Linked DNA regions of Homo sapiens: region 1 is linked to region 2. Evidence: promoter capture Hi-C in human tissues and cell types (Jung and others, 2019). All regions are on one chromosome and are shown on one strand. Each heading gives the region's core, a stretch centred on a gene start or on the middle of the fragment in contact. The rest is flanking DNA. Distances are from core to core; before and after follow the strand shown. Region 1 has its middle 50 kb from the start of TOP3B. Region 2 holds the start of MAPK1 (mitogen-activated protein kinase 1).

Region 1 (4,469 bases), core at 1,705-4,204, 160 kb before region 2:
GCAGAAGGAGGCCCCACTTGGAAGTGTGTGGGCACTGGGAAAGGTGCAGGTGCTGGACCCTCAGGCTGCTTCTCACCTGAGGGAGGGACAGGTGCACAGGTGGTGGGCAGTGGCCACTCCTGTGGCTTCCTGGCCTCCTTGCCTTTCTTACCCACTCTGGGACAAGGAGGCCATCATGGGGATGTGTATCTGCTTCCTCCCTCTCCTGAGACTACCTGTATCTCAGGTCAGTGCCTGCATGGCAATAGTGTGTCTGTCTAAAATTGGTCTGTGGGAAGAATGTCAGCAACATCAGGGAGCTTGAGCTGTAACTTTGTGAGCCAGAAATCGCCTGGCTTGTGATCCTGTCCAGGTCCCAGCATCTACAGGACAAAACCCAACATGAACTAAGGATGGGAGTGGATGACAGAGTGATGCACATTGTGGGATCACGTAGGCAAACCTCCTTTTTTTCCTGTTGTCTGGACCCAAAGTCTCCCAGCCATGAGATGAGCATGTGACTGACCCCAGCTGCAACTACAGGCATCTGCATTCTGCTGTCCAAACCGATCAGACAACCCACTGGTCAACATGATGGTGTCAGGGGAGATGGTGTGAGTGATCTGATCTAGTATTCTCAAAGGCAAAAATTCCTGGTGGGTTGGTCAGAGTGCATTCCCTCATTCTGGAGCATTTGTGTGTGAATGTGATACCTGAGACTGAGCAGTATCTTGTTTGCGCATGGGAATTTAGCCTAGGGACAGGACAGGACATGGAGAAGAGACATCTCAAATAAAACTCATAGTGGGATTCCCCCCTTGCCATTTGGAGAGAAAAGCGTCCTGTGACAACTTTGAAAGAGGCTGGGAGGCTGTTGTCTGAGTTTCCATCATGGTGATTAGCTCAGGGCCTCCCCCAGCCTCATTGCTCATGGAGGCCCCCTCAGCAGGGGTTTCGCATCCACTCCCTCCACTTTCCAAGGCTATTCCTGAGCCCTCTCTCCTCACCCAGGCTTCAGTCCCTCCTCTTACAAACACAGGCTAGACCTGACCTTTCTCTCCAATGACCCCAACTGGCCCCGTGGCCTTCATGCTTGCTGTCTCCTTGTTCATCTTCTTTGAGGCATCTGGACTTTTCTTCATAAACTTGAGTCAGATCCTGTGTCTTCCTTGCCCAACCTTCTGATGGCTCCTCTACCCCCAACTGAGCTCTCCTCACTGTGTGATGACATCATATTGTCGCATTGACATTTTTACTTGATTGCCTTATCTGTTCCACCACTCAGTGTCAGCTCCATGAGGACAGGGCCCCTTCCTCTCTTGTTCATCATGTACCTTGAATCCCTGGATCTGAGGCTGGTGCATAGTAGCTTCTCAGTGAATGAGGTGGATAAACAGACCTTTGGGAGTCGACTATCCTGAGTCAGACACAATGACCCTGGTCCTGTTTTGACCCATTATGGATTTGGTTTCCAGGACAGCCTGATCTTGGTATTGAGGGATTTCTCTTAATATGAGACAATACGACAATTTGTTACTGCCAAGGGTTGGGTGTGAGGGTAGAATTGAGAGGACAGAAACACATTCTCCACACTGCGTTCACTGGAGTGAGTTTTAAAATCTAAATTTTTACTAAACAAATGAAAAGCAACGTTAATCAGCTGACTTGCCCAAGAAGTGGGGGCTGCACAGAGAAGCTCCATTGCTGGATGGGCAGCAGCTTTTTCTCCCACTTCCCCACTGGCCTGAAGTACTGCCTGAGCCTTGGTGCTTGTGTCCCAAGCTGAGAATAAAAATCAGCCTTTTCCTCTGCCTGGAGTCCAGAGATGCTCAGAGAGGCCATGTTCTCCAACCTGGAGCCTCAGCATTGGGCCTATGCCCCTAAGGGTCAATGACTGCTTTTATATATGTGGAGCTCTGGGTCTCTCGGAGGCATGTTTGTACCAGAGCACATGCCCGTGCCCAACATTGCTGCTGCTTCTAGTGCAGGAGCTGGTACCCACCTGCCCCACAGATGCATGCACTGCAGGTGGCTGGGTCAGCACAGGCTGGGCTCAGGACGCTGGACATTAAGACAGACACAGGGTGAGAGGTGGGTCAGTGGACAGAGACACATGCATAAACCTTGGTCTTTTGATCACCAGCCCTGACACTGAGCCCTAGCCACCTGTGCAGTGAAGGAGAAGGCGGGGGAGAGACCACAGTGGAGACCCATACATAGCTCTACATCCTGAGGATCATCAACTGAGCCTGGGCTCTCCAAGTCCCTTGTACTCCCTCCAGCAGCTCAGGGTGAGGAGGGCATCCTTCATACCAACCAGCCTCCTCCCCTGGGCTGTCCAAGCCCTTTCCTGGGCCATGACTTCGATCCCTCCCTGAAAAGCTGACACATGAAGAGGATGGTCTTGGTTGATGCTGTTCTGTGGCTCCCTGGGGGCCTATAAGGAAACAGCTGCTGGTCTTGTGAGCAGGGGGTAGAGGGCTCCAGCCCAGGGTCAGGGAGTGGCTCTCGTATGGGGTCTCCAGCACAAGATTTAGGGACAGACCACAGAACAGCCTACTGCTTGAGGTCCAGATGCACCCATGTATCCTGTCTCCTCCACTGTTCACTTTGTCATCCCCAAGAAGGATGGAGATGGGCAGTGTTTAGGCCATAACACACCTTAGTCTCACATCTCCACAGACCCTCCTTCCTGGATATACTTGCTTAGCTCACTGTGAGGTTTATAGGGCAGTTCTGGGAGGCTGGACTCCCTGAGGAGCCTCCACTAGGGGACATCAGAGCAGGAAGCCCAATGGGGACAGGGCTCCCTCCAGGACACAGGGAGCTGCTCCCTCTTTCTTCTCCCTGGGCTGTCTAGAGCCTGCACCCAGACTGCCTTGCTTCTCTCTGGGCCTATTTCTTCTTCTCAGCCCCTCAAGAAATTTGATTGCAGAAAAGGAAAAGATTAAAAAATAAATTTAAAAATATTTGCCAGCACCAGGCATAAATTCTAGGGCAATATGACACCAAGTGCAATTTTGAGAGGAGAGAGGGGAGCCCTAGGTAGGCTTCTGATTCCTAATTATCCTTCCTTATTTGGGCACTAAGAGGCAAATAACATCTTTCAAAGGGCAGGGTCAGCACTCTCTAAATCTGTCCTGAGTACATGGAATGATGACTCTTTCAGGATTTGGAAACAATTTCTAAGGCTCATTTTTCTTCTGTCAAGAGAAAATGGTTAGCTCCACAGGCACTGAATTCAGCATATTTGGAAAATTAGGTAATATTTCATAGTCATCATGATATTTTTGTTTCTGTTTTTAGTTTTCCTGAGACTTCAGAAAACTTGAATGAGAAATTGAGAGTAGAAACATTTTAAACCAGACGGTGCTTCCAAGTGGAGTGTGTACATATAAAACATATTTGAAAATTTAAAACTTGTCATATAACAAGACCCTGAGCAGGCTGAGGTTTCTGTCCCACTTCCTCATCTGCCTGTGTCACTGTGTGAATGCCAGTGCCCCAGGTCTGACAGTAATAGTCAGCCTCATCCTCAGACTGGAGGCTGGAGATGGTGAGGTAGCGCTCAGCCCCAGAGCTGGAGCCTGAGAAGCGATCAGGGATCCCGTCCCCCTTGCTGTGGCTGCCATCACTGTTAAGCTTCATCAAGTACCGAGGGCCCTTCTCTGGCTGCTGCTGATGCCATGCGATGGCGTAGCTGCTGTGCCCACTGCTCAGAGTGCAGGTGAGCTTGACCGAGGCTCCCAGGGAGGCAGAGGCAGAGGGCGATTGAGTCAGCACAAGCTGGGAGAGAGACCCTGAAAACACAGACACCCATTACCGGCTGGAGTCAAGAAAAGAGGGAAGGACATTCCTGGCATAAGTTTGGGAGGTGGTATCAGTGAGCTGGAGGTCAGGGTGCTGAGGGCCATCCTGACCTGTGCAGTGGAGGAGGAGGGTGAGGAAGAGGAGTGGGGTCCAAGCCATGGTGCAGACTCCCCAGAGCTCTGCTGAGGCTGACAGTTGCAGGTATTTCTTACCCACCCTGTAGTCCCAGAGGAGAGAGAGGGGCCCTTCATGCAAATGTGCTCCTCTTCCTCTGCCCAACCAAATCACTCCGTGTGCCTGAGTGTCAGTCCCAGTGGTGGGGTGACATTTCTGGGAGGGGTTACCTGGGCTGGGCCTGGCCTGAGGCTCTCCAAGGGTGCAGAGAGAGCCCAGCTGCTGGCCCCAGTGAACCCTGCGTGGAGACCAAGTTCAAGTGTTTGGTTTCCCAGCTGAGAAACCCACAGAGCCCTCAGCAGCAGACCAACAGCACCCCCTTCTGCCTAGGCCCAGGTCCATCGTGTCTGTGACCAGATGCCAGTGGGTCCTGACAGAGGCTTCTGCCCGGACCAGGGCCTTGACCACGGCCTGTTCTCTGTCCAAGGGCAAAGTGGGACCCCTCGTCAGGGCAGCCTCCTATTTTATTTCAGACTTTAGTTTTCCATTTAGCCCTTTTCAGTGGG
Region 2 (4,698 bases), core at 2,199-4,698:
CTCCTGCCTTAGCCTCCCAAGTAGCTAGGATTACAGGTGCCAGCCATCATGCTCGGCTAATTTTTGTATTTTCAGTAGAGACAAGGTTTTACCACGTTGGCCAGGCTGGTCTCGAACTCCTGACCTCAGGTGATCCACCCGCCTCAGCCTCCCAAAGTGCTGGGATTACAGGTGTGAGCCACCTCGCCCAGCCATCTTTTTTTCCCCCGGAGACGGAATCTCACTCTGTTGCCCAGACTGGAGTGCAGTGGCACGATCTCGGCTCACTGCAACCTCCACCTCCTGGATTCAAGCAATTCTCCTGCCTCAGCCTCCCAAGAAGCTGGAATTACAGGCACACACCACCACACCCAGCTAATTTTTGTATTTTTAGAAGAGATGGGGTTTCGCCATGTTGGCCAGGCTGGTCTAGAACTCCTGACCTCATGATCCGCCCGCCTCGGCCTCCCAAAGTGCTGGGATTACAGGCACGAGCCACCGTGCCTGCTGGCCAGCTTTTTTATAAATAACATTTTTTTCCCTAATTGGGTCTATTAGTGTCTGTTCTTTATCCCTGAAACTTAATGATTTTCCCAGATTATGTGTTGTTGGTTTCTTCTTAATTTTTCTCAATCTCAGTGAACCCACTCTATTTCCCACCTCCACCTCAGACCTTTTTGCAACCTAAGGAAACTTTTCTCCTATTGTAATTTTGATTATTCGCTCTAACCGATTTGCTCTGTCTTCCTGTGGGGATGCCTAGAGTTAGAATCCCTAGATGCTGTCCATCCCCATTATCTTCTCTTACAGGATTCCATCACTTTGTTCTATATTCTTGAAAATTTTCTCATGTTTATCTTCTATATTGCTGATGTACTCTTCTGCATCAAGTCTACTTTTTTTTTTTTTTTTTTTGAGACGGAGTCTTGCTCTGTCACCCAGGTTGGAGTGCAGTGGCGTGACCTCGGCTCACTGCAAGCTCCGCCTCCCGGGTTGACGCCATTCTCCTGTCTCAGCCTCCGGAGTAGGTGGGACTACAGGCACTCGCCACCACGCCCGGCTAATTTTTTTTTTTTTTTTTTTTGTATTTTTAGTAGAGACGAGGTTTCACCATGTTAGCCAGGATGGTCTCGATCTCCTGACCTTGTGATCCGCCCATCTCGGCCTCCCAAAGTGCTGGGATTACAAGCGTGAGCCACCGCACCCGGCCTCTTTTTTTTTTTTTTTTTTGAGACGGAGTCTCACTCTGTGGCCCAGGCTGGAGTGCAGTGGCGCGATCTCAGCTCACTGTAACCTCTGCCTCCCGAGTTCAAGCAATTCTCCTGCCTCAGCCTCCCGAGTAGCTGGGACTACAGGCACACCGGCAGGCCCAGCTAATTTTTTGTATCTTAGTAGAGACGGGGTTTCACCATGTTGCCCAGGCTGGTCCCCAGTTTCTGAGCTTGGGCAATCTGCCCTCCTCCGCCTCCCAAAGTGCTGGGATTACAGGCGTGAGCCACCGCGCCCGGCCGGTTATTGTGGTTTTAATTTCATGGTACTCCATTTATCTTGGCCTGTTTTTTAAAAAAATATGCAATGTCCTCTTTTGAGAATAAGAATTAGGTATTTTCTTTTTATTATTATTATTATACTTTAAGTTTTAGGGTACATGTGCACAATGTGCTGGTTAGTTACATATGTATACATGTGCCATGCTGGTGTGCTGCACCCATTAACTCAAGAATTAGGTATTTTCTAAAATTGGGTCCTGCTTCATGGGCTAAATATATTTTGAAGGAGTAAATTTTGGCTGGAGCAGTTTATTCCTTTTCTCATGTGTCACATCCTTTTTCCCCCACAGGATTTTTTGTTTGTTTGTTTCTCTGTTTTAGAGACAGGGTATTGCTGTGTTGCCCAGGCTAGTCTTGAATTCTTGGGCCCAAGTTGGGATTACAGGCGTGAGCCACCACACCAGCTTCCACCAGAGAGTTAAACAAACAAACAAACAAAAAACTTTGTTTATTCTCCTTTGAGATTGACTAATTAATCTTTGTTGATGTCTAGAAGTCAAGAGTTGATGGTTTTAAACTTGGAAGAGTTGAACAAAGAGGATATAGGGTCTGCCGCTCTTCCTTCTCCCTCCAAACATGGCAGGGGAAAAGGTTCAGAAGCAGTGCCTGGGTCATTGTCCGTCTCGTTGTCTTAGCTTTCCTTGGTATCCACCTGCTTCAGGACTCTAATTTTTATTTTTTCAACCTCTGTTGTTTGTGACTGTTTCTTAACCTGGTGTGTCTCTTTTTCTCTAAACCTCGATGTTTTGGTTTTAGTGACTCTATCTTTGCATTTCTATTTCATTACCTGCTCTGTCAGCATTTCTGCCTATCTGTACCAATCTCGGTCTGTCTCTGAACGCAAATGTATCTCTCATGTGTTTCGACCCACCACCCCCTAATCCCTTACTCTCTGCTTTGTCCTCCTGCCTCAGCCTCCCAAGTAGCTGGGATGACAGGCGCCCACCACTGCGCCCGGCTAATTTTTGTATTTTTAGTAGAGACAGGGTTTCGCCATGTTGGCCAGGCTGGTCTTGAACTCCTGACCTCGTGATCCGCCCGCCTCGGCCTCCCAAAGTGCTAGGATTACAGGCGTGAGCCACCTCGCCCGGACTTAATTTTTGTATTTTTAGTAGAGACCTGGTCTCAAACTCCTGACCTCAAGTGATCCGCCCGCCTCGGCCTCCCAAAGTGCTGGGATGATAGGCGTGAGACACCGCGCCCTCCCTTCTGCTTTGTACTTCTTCATCGTACTTATCACAACTTGAGCATTACACGTATTTGTCTGTCTCCTCTCTCTAAAAGGTAACTTCTATAAGGGTGGATCCCCAGGAACATGGAGTGTGCTCAACAAACATCTGAACTAACCTGATTGGCGTATCCTCTCAGTGTCTCCTTTTAGTCTCGACAATTGTGTTTCACACTTTCTCAGTATGCAAATATCTTTCTCGGTCTGGGTCATGCCTTTCGGTTTCTGCCCCAGTGCAGAGGCCTCTAAGTTTATCAGCGTGTGGACCACAGATTCGCAGAGGCCTGAGCTGCGGCGCTGCCGGGATATGGCGCGTCGTCGGGCCTCAAGCACAGCCCGGGGTCCCTCGCTGGCTCTGTTCGGACCCTGCTCGGTCGCTCGCCTGGGCCCCAGCCATCTCTCACTTCAGCCCATGAGTTCTGCCCCACGTCTGTCTCCCTGGGTGTCTTAAGAGACGCGACCCGCACCGACGCCCCCGCGAATGCACCGCGAATGCACGTGACCGCGCCTAGTGGCGCCCCCTCAGTCAACGCCGTCGCAGTGCCCCTCCCGAAGCCCGCCGCTTCCGCCGGCCCGCGCGGCCCCGCCCCCAGCCGCGAGGAACCAATCCGCATGCACACTTCTTGTCCCCGCCCCGGCACCCTCCTCGGCGCGCGCCCCTCCCTCCGCCCGCCCGCCGGCCCGCCCGTCAGTCTGGCAGGCAGGCAGGCAATCGGTCCGAGTGGCTGTCGGCTCTTCAGCTCTCCCGCTCGGCGTCTTCCTTCCTCCTCCCGGTCAGCGTCGGCGGCTGCACCGGCGGCGGCGCAGTCCCTGCGGGAGGGGCGACAAGAGCTGAGCGGCGGCCGCCGAGCGTCGAGCTCAGCGCGGCGGAGGCGGCGGCGGCCCGGCAGCCAACATGGCGGCGGCGGCGGCGGCGGGCGCGGGCCCGGAGATGGTCCGCGGGCAGGTGTTCGACGTGGGGCCGCGCTACACCAACCTCTCGTACATCGGCGAGGGCGCCTACGGCATGGTGTGGTGAGTGTCCGCGACCGGCCACGCCCGGCCCCCCCACCGCCCGGGGCCGCAGCGGACGCAGCCTCGGCCTCGCCCGCGCCTCGGCCTCAGGCGCCGCGGCGACCTCGAACCCGGACTTCACCGCGGTCCGCGCGCCAGGGCTCGGGCGCGGCCCCGGGCCGGTTGAGGTTTAGGTGTTGTTGCTCGCGGTTCCCGGGCCTTCGGTCGCTCGGGAAGGGGCTCAGGGAGTGGCGCGGGGGGCGTAGGCCGGTACTAGTGGACCCTTGGCCCCGGGCGCAGCGCGGCCTTTAAAGTCTGGACCCTCGGGAAGGCAACGGAAGGGTCCCCACCCCTCAATTTGCTAGTATCATGGCCTTCTTTTGGACTTTCGATTGTAAAACTGTGAATTCCATCAGATGCTTGTCGGTGTTGGCGGCGGTGGCTGCTGAGGTCCTGAAAGCGTTTTGCCTCCGCGTGTGTGCAGAACACCGAAATAATCGTTTTTCTCTCTTCGCCTCTGTTTGCAGCCAACGGCTTTCATTAAATATCCTCAGCGGTGCTAATGGTGGTCTCCGCGCAGGCTTTCTAAAATGGATTACTGACGCCAGTGTTGGTGGCATATTTCCGTCTTGAAGTTTTTACTTCTAAGTGGATTTTAATATCGTACTGCTGGCGTTTCAGGAAGGATAAACTAACATTACTCTCTTGATTTGTTAAAGATCCGTTTAGAGTTGGGCCTAATTTGACTTTTTTTTTAGCCCCCAAGTGAGCTCTTTTACCAGCATAAATGCTCCCAGATGTTTTAGCCCAATTGCTATGGACTCCTGTTAATGATTTAGTGGTCATTATGTATGCAGCCTTAATGGAGTTCTTGCAGAATCACACGTAGACTCCCTCATCTTGATTCAGGTCCCTTAGAAAAGTGAAATGATAGTGACGGTTTTTTTT

What was found. Contacts are between HindIII fragments. The study calls those that stand out against the background at their distance.
Region 1: a contact is called between a fragment that was not itself captured here and the fragment with the promoter of MAPK1 in region 2, in 1 of the 25 tissues and cell types used here (lymphoblastoid cells).

What each region holds. Positions count from the first base shown.
Region 1 is chr22:22,030,473-22,034,941 of GRCh38, reverse strand. It overlaps the pseudogene PRAMENP, IGL, IGLV4-69 and the pseudogene IGLVI-68. Among named protein-coding and RNA genes, the nearest start is that of TOP3B, 50 kb to the right of the region's middle. RefSeq lists a silencer at 3,418-3,537 and enhancers at 3,608-3,667, 3,808-3,887, 3,185-3,964, 4,328-4,469, 3,965-4,469. The HindIII fragment of the contact is 9,029 bases long and covers 1-4,469 here.
Region 2 is chr22:21,866,395-21,871,092 of GRCh38, reverse strand. It overlaps MAPK1 (mitogen-activated protein kinase 1), which reads left to right and starts at 3,448. Exons shown (of 9, transcript NM_002745.5): 1 at 3,448-3,771. The coding sequence starts at 3,653. RefSeq lists a silencer at 3,278-3,517. The HindIII fragment of the contact is 55,514 bases long and covers 1-4,698 here.